2 separate regions of the Homo sapiens genome follow, and region 2 is linked to region 1. The links are contacts of gene promoters, found by promoter capture Hi-C in blood cells and fetal thymus (Javierre and others, 2016). All regions are on one chromosome and are shown on one strand. The core of a region is centred on a gene start or on the middle of the fragment in contact, and the rest is flanking DNA. Distances in the headings are between cores, read along the strand shown. Region 1 holds the start of RARRES1 (retinoic acid receptor responder 1). Region 2 overlaps GFM1 (G elongation factor mitochondrial 1).

Region 1 (3,312 bases), core at 371-2,870:
CATTCCCTTGGCCTCACTGAGTGTCCGGGCCCCACTTGCCTAGAAGGTGTGCTCCAGGAAGGCAGAGATGTTTAAGATTGTTCACCCTCATTCCCCCAGGGCCTGGCACAGGTGTTTCACAATTATCTGCAGAAGGAAGGAAAGACAGACAAGGGACAGACAACAGCCAGAGGAAGAAGTGCAGTAAGACAGGATCTTTCCAGAGATGGCACCACGCCCATCAACCCACAGGCTTTGCTCACCATGCAGAACTGGCACATGCCCACTCTCAACCACCCACTGGCAAAAAGAGATTTCCTTTAGCCCCACAATGGCACTGGGGTCCACGTTTGGTGCAGGGGTAGACCCCTGAACAAAATGCAGGATGGAGAAATGGATGTTGGGAGTGCCTAGCAGTACCAGTTCTCCTCTCTCAGCCCTGGTTCTCCAGGACTTTTTCTCTTGCCTACGGTTTAAAAACAATGGCTATCTTAGCCCTTCACTGCCACCTGTCTAAAAAGAGTTGCCGCCGGGTACCGTGGCTCACGCCTGTAATCCCAGCACTTTGGGAGGCCCAGGCGGGCGGCTCACGAGGTCAGGAGTTTGAGACCAGCCTGACCAACATGGTGAAACCCCGTCTTTACTAAAAATACAAAAATTAGCCGGGCATGGTGGCTGTAGTCCCAGCTACTCGGGAGGCTGAGGTAGAATTGCTTGAACCTGGGAGGCGGAGGTTGCAGTGAGCCAAGATCGTGCCACTGCACTCCAGCCTGGGAGACAGAGCAAGACATGGTCTCAAAAAAAAAAAAAAAAAAAAGAGTTGCCAACACTTGCTGCCTCCATTCCCTGAAGCCCCATCCATGCCTCACCCCGCTGGAATCCGACTTCCATCCCCGGCCTTTAAATCTGCCTCGCACAGTGGTTATCAATGTATCAATGACCTACTTGCTTCTGAGACAAATGGGACTCTCAGGCCTTATCTTACCCTGCCTTGCTGCCCACTCCTCCCTCCTCGGCGCCTCTTCTGGGCAGGACCGGCAGGTGTTCAGGCCCGTCCCCAGCCCCTGGCTCCGGCGTCCCGGGCTCCCTGCCGGCATCCACCTTCACCTCCTCCCCAGCCCCAGCCCTCTGGCGACTTCTCCCACCTCCACAGTGGCTGTGCCACGAGGAGCCCCATCAATGCCCGCTGCGGCCTGCCCCTTTCTCCGCCGTCCCCTTTCACCTGCTGGGAAATCACAGCCCTAATGCTTGGAGAATCCAAGCAGTTTCCCTCTAAAACCCCAGGGTTGCGAAACCGCAGGGGAAACGCCAAGTCCCTGAGCTGGGCTAGGGACGCGGTACGAGGTAGCACGGGCGGGCCGCGATTCCTCGGGGAGGCGTCCCCATTGTCCCCCCAACCCCGACCCTCTCCCGCCGCGGCCTGGGCCAGAAGCACCCGGCCCTGCGCTGCGGAGGCGATGCCGCATCCTAGCACTAAGCCCGGGCAGCGGGGAGGGGCAGAGAGAACCCAGGGGCTGCGGGAAACGTGGAAAAGGAGTGGCCCCATGGGGACCCGGGCTCGCTACAGACCTTCGCCCTGGGGGCGGAGGGGAGGGGCCCACCACGGCCTTATTTCCGCGAGCGCCGGCACTGCCCGCTCCGAGCCCGTGTCTGTCGGGTGCCGAGCCAACTTTCCTGCGTCCATGCAGCCCCGCCGGCAACGGCTGCCTGCTCCCTGGTCCGGGCCCAGGGGCCCGCGCCCCACCGCCCCGCTGCTCGCGCTGCTGCTGTTGCTCGCCCCGGTGGCGGCGCCCGCGGGGTCCGGGGACCCCGACGACCCTGGGCAGCCTCAGGATGCTGGGGTCCCGCGCAGGCTCCTGCAGCAGGCGGCGCGCGCGGCGCTTCACTTCTTCAACTTCCGGTCCGGCTCGCCCAGCGCGCTACGAGTGCTGGCCGAGGTGCAGGAGGGCCGCGCGTGGGTGAGTGCGGAGCGACGCGCCGGGGCACGCGCCTGCCTGTCCGCGCACGGCGCTGGGAGGTGACACCTGGGTACGCGCGCCTGCCGGCCCAACGGATGGTCCGCCAGGGAAGGTGCAGTGCGCACGACGCCCGGGGAGATCCCAGCTGGGCCTGGCGCCCCTGAAGTATCCCAGGGCGTGGAAGGGGCCCCTTCGGTGCACAGCGTCTGCAGAAATCTGGCTCGTTCCTTCCAGCATTTATGAGGTCATAGGTTTTTCACAGGGCAGCGCTCTTGACTGCTCCCACACCTGGGAAAGAGATGCTTTGGGAAATTGAGGAACAGGCTGAAAGGGCAACATTTAATTTTGTCCGGAGGTACCCAGAGTTGGTTGCTATGGGGGTGCTTACTGTGCCTGCGCCCTACTAGTGGCTGCAGCCAAAGTTTTGGGCGGGATTTCCAAAATCTAAGCCAGTAGCCATACCATACCGCGGACGACTGTCTCTTGTTAATTGCAGTCCACCACGCTAGGGCTTCGGGGTAATGTGGTTGGAATTTACACGTAGGCCTGGGCAGAAACCTGCTAATGCTGGCGTCTGATTTGATCTAATTAGAAGTGAGTGAATCCGAGCCCAGTGTTCTATATGAACCGAATGAATGAGAACTTTGCAACCCGTTGTTTGGTTGCTGATTTCAAGGCATTGACTGTAGGAATTGTCTCGTATGTGTGAAGCTACTTTGCGTTCTTCATCCTATAGATTACAAAAGTTACAGAACTACACTAAGTCTGTCCCAAAAGCAAAGTTGCTCCTTCTACAACCTCCAGATATTCCACAAAGCCTGCAGACACACGGCCTCAAAGAATCTGGAATTGAGTATCGCATGTATTTAATAAATAGGTCGAGTTTTAAAGTGTAGCAGCAGGATTTTCATTTAACAGTGCCAAACGCCTGGAAGCAAACACCATTGGAAAGTCCTTCAAGAAGCTCAGCCTCGGTTCTTCAAAACTTATTCCTGTACCCGGCACGGCTGTATTTATTGAATGATTAAATCAAATTGTTCCTAGAAAAAGGCAACCTGGCCAGGCACGGTGGCTCACGCCTGTAATCCCAGCACTTTGGGAGGCCGAGACAGGTGGATCACCTGAGGTCGGGAGTTCGAGACCAGCCTGACCAACATGGAGAAACCCTGTCTCTACTAAAAATACAAAATTAGCTGGGTGTGGTGGCGCATGCCTGTAATCCCAGCTACTTGGGAGGCTGAGGCAGGAGAATCGCTTGAACTTGGGAGGCGGAGGTTGCGGTGAGCCGAGATTGCGCCACTGCACTCCAGCCTGGGTAACAAGAGCAAAACTCCCTCTCAAAATAAAATAAATAAAATAAAATAAAATAATAAAG
Region 2 (3,312 bases), core at 533-3,032, 74 kb after region 1:
TTTCAGACTGACAATTCCTCTTCTAGAAGAAACAAAAGTTATGGCTACCAAAAAATTCGTTAAGATTTTGCTTCAACTGATAAATTTCTCCAGGAATATATAGATGGATTGGGAGAGGGTGGGGGTAGGGGACAAATTCAGGCACTCAGTATTCCTTCCAAGGCCTAACCATAAGGACTACAGAAGGCTACAGCAGATTCCAAGCCAGCTCAAGAATTCAAGGCGTAAGTCAAAGTTTATCTCCCAGATCAGCCCTTGAAGCTTTTAAATCTTCAGGTGGATTCTGGCCCCAATATGGTCCTGCAGTGGGTTCTACAACAGGAATAGAAGCTCTAGGGTTAAACAGGGCTTTTGTGCCTGCCGTATTTCAGAAGGTAAATAAAACAATGTGGAAAACTGTGTAAATTTATTATTCTCTTATCTTTAAGAATCACAGTTCCACAGTCTTAAATGCCTATTACATTTTTTGTAATAATAGTTCTTGAGGAAAGTGCTGAATCTTGTATTCTGAGTGTTGGGGAACTGTCTCTTTCCTTAACCTTGGCCCTTGAGAAAATATAGCTAATTCACAACTAGCGGTATTAAAAAAAATGAGTTAACAACTGCTAATTTATCCTATAGCAAAGTGCTAGATCAGAGCTACAACACATTTAAGTAGAAAGAAACTAGAAACATATATTTAACCAGAATTAATTTTCTAGTGGGGCTCAGGATACCAAGAAGGGTCTATTTCACCCACATCAGAGGAATTTCTAATCTCACAATGACTCTGTACTTGCCTCCATCATGTCGGCATGCATGCGAGCCAGCCGTTGCAACCGTACTTTCTTTCTTGTCCTTGTGTTATAGATGGTGTCACCCTTCTTTAGCTCTCCCTGATAACTGCGAACATAAGTTAATTGTCCAAATCGACCTACCTAGAAGTCAAGATTGGGTAAGGGCAGGAAGAATAAAAAGAAACATAATAATCAAAGTATTGAGGAAAGCTTCATAACTCCCTCCAAGTATTCTCTACCAATTTTAGTAATCTATCTTACATATTTCAGTTTATTGTCATAAACTAATACTAGCTTTGAACACAGATAAGATAAATGGCTGTTATTCATCAATCCTTTTGGTATCACAATCTAAGACATTTCTGTTTCCTTTGAAATAAGCTATTACATTAGAACAAAATTTTTAAGTTGTTTACATAATAAGGAAGTATCTTTTGCCTTCTAACATTTCATAAGTTTAATACAATAAGATATAAAACAAAAAAAAGGTATACTTGGAAAAACAACAAAGATACTATTAGAAACAGTAGGTGTGTGCTATACATCTAAAACACAATCTCTGACAATCACGTGGAAAATTATGTGAGTAAGAGTTCTGTGGCTGGGCTGGTCGCTCAGGCCTGTAATCCCAGCACTCTGGGAGGCAGAGGCGAGCGGATCACCTGAGGTCAGGAGTTCAAGACCAGCCTGGCCAACATGGCAAAACCCCACCTCTACTAAAAATACAAAAATCAGCCAGACGTGGTGGCACACCTATAATCCCAGCTACTCGGGAAGCTGAGGCAGGAAAATTGCTTAAACCCAGGAGGCGGAGGTTGCAGTGAGCCGAGATCGCACCACTGCACTCCAACCTGGGCAACAGAATAGGTGAGACTCTGTCTCAAAAAAAAAAAAAAAAAAAAAAAGAGTTCTGTGAAGTGATTGAATATACTAGCAGTGACCAATTAACATATATTTAACAGTTCCCAGTTCTTACCATGTTAATTATAGGCTTAACAAAATAGCAATCGAAATCCCAACAGGAAATTTTAAACATGATTAGTGATTTTAAAATTCATTCAGAGGAATAAATAGGTAAAAACAGAAATTTTTCAAAAACTATGGTAATAAGATAAAACTAACCCTGACAGATATAAAAACATATTAAAATGCTTGAAACTCAGAAAATTCAGAACCAGCACAAATTAGACTAAACACCCCACAGAGTACAGTATAAAAATCTAAAGTATAAAATATATTTGTCAATAGATGATAAAGAAACATGACAAATCAATGGAAAAGGAAGAAAGGATTGTGCATAAAGTACTAACTGGACAACTGATACTCTATTTGGAGGCAGAGGAGATACATTTAGATCCTACCCACTAAAACAAATTCCAGTTGAATTAATGATGGGGAAAGAAAAAAAACATAAAGAAGTAGAAGGAACGAAAGTAAATATTAACAAAATATATACAAATAAAAGGTTGCTAAGGTTAAAAATTAATGAATGACTAAACAGAAAGACTGACATATTCGACTATACAAACTTTAAAGCACTGATTGCTTTTAAAAATCAAAATTTATTTCATCAAGATAAAAGATTACAATAGAATTCTTCATTTGTTAAATCAGTAATGATTTTTAAACAATACTCAATGATGATATTCATTGAAATAATCCAATACATTAATTTGGAGAGTATGAACGCAATCTGGCAATATAAACCATTAACTATGAAAACATTCTATGCCTTTAACTCAATAATCACTATTCTGGGAATCCTAAGAAAATATTCTTATATATGTATTTTTAAAAGCTTTATGTGTAAATACTTTTACTGTAATGTTATTTCCACTTTTTAATTAAAAAAATTTTCCCCTCATTTTGGAGGTAATAAATATACTGTAAAATATTTTTAAAGTAAGAAAAAGCCCCCAAAATATAATCCCATCCCAGAAATAACCACTCTTAACACTTCCAACTTATCTACCATTTTTCCCCACTTAAAATATTATGTACAGAAGCAACAGCATTTCAACAAAAAGCCCATCCAGTCCCCAAATCTTGGTTTCTAATACCATTTTACTTAAAAAGGAACCAGTGCTCCTTGGAGAACGGCTGATTCTAGGGTTAGGGCATGGAATATACAAGATAAGCCTGAGGCGTCTTGTAGTGCCAGCAAGTAAGGAAGTATTCAAAAAGGCAAAACATTGGAAGATGTTAAAGGAACACAGGAGCCAACTGAGAGTTCCCAATCGCCAAACCCAGCCAATCTGAACAACAAATGACATACTCAAAGTCATAGTTATAACTCAAAGTTCAAAATACATATACGTGAGTCCACGCTGATATTAAATAAGTGATTGTCCAAATAGATAAATAAGCAGGGAAGAAAGACAAATCTCCCTTTCAGAAGAATTCCAAATAACTTATGTAGATAGTGCCCCCTTCAAGGGGGTGGAACATAATTCCCCCCTCAAGTGTTGGCTGAGCCAAGTGACTTCCTTCTAAAAAGTACACTATGAAAAGGGGAATAAAAAGAGTACAGTAACTT

The links. Contacts are between HindIII fragments. The CHiCAGO score rates a contact against its expected background, and 5 or more counts as called.
Region 2: a contact is called between a fragment that was not itself captured here and the fragment with the promoter of RARRES1 in region 1, in 3 of 17 cell types (neutrophils, erythroblasts and megakaryocytes). The highest score is 7.9, in neutrophils.

Annotation. Positions count from the first base shown.
Region 1 is chr3:158,730,765-158,734,076 of GRCh38, reverse strand. It overlaps RARRES1 (retinoic acid receptor responder 1), which reads left to right and starts at 1,620. Exons shown (of 6, transcript NM_206963.2): 1 at 1,620-1,937. The coding sequence starts at 1,662. LOC100287290 (a long non-coding RNA gene) reads right to left here and starts at 1,716. Exons shown (of 5, transcript NR_171782.1): 1 at 1,549-1,716; 2 at 40-126. RefSeq lists an enhancer at 1,168-1,668 and a silencer at 1,746-1,805. The HindIII fragment of the contact is 14,465 bases long and covers 1-3,312 here.
Region 2 is chr3:158,656,527-158,659,838 of GRCh38, reverse strand. It overlaps GFM1 (G elongation factor mitochondrial 1), which reads right to left. Exons shown (of 18, transcript NM_024996.7): 9 at 780-917. Among named protein-coding and RNA genes, the nearest start is that of GFM1, 14 kb to the right of the region's middle. The HindIII fragment of the contact is 1,588 bases long and covers 989-2,576 here.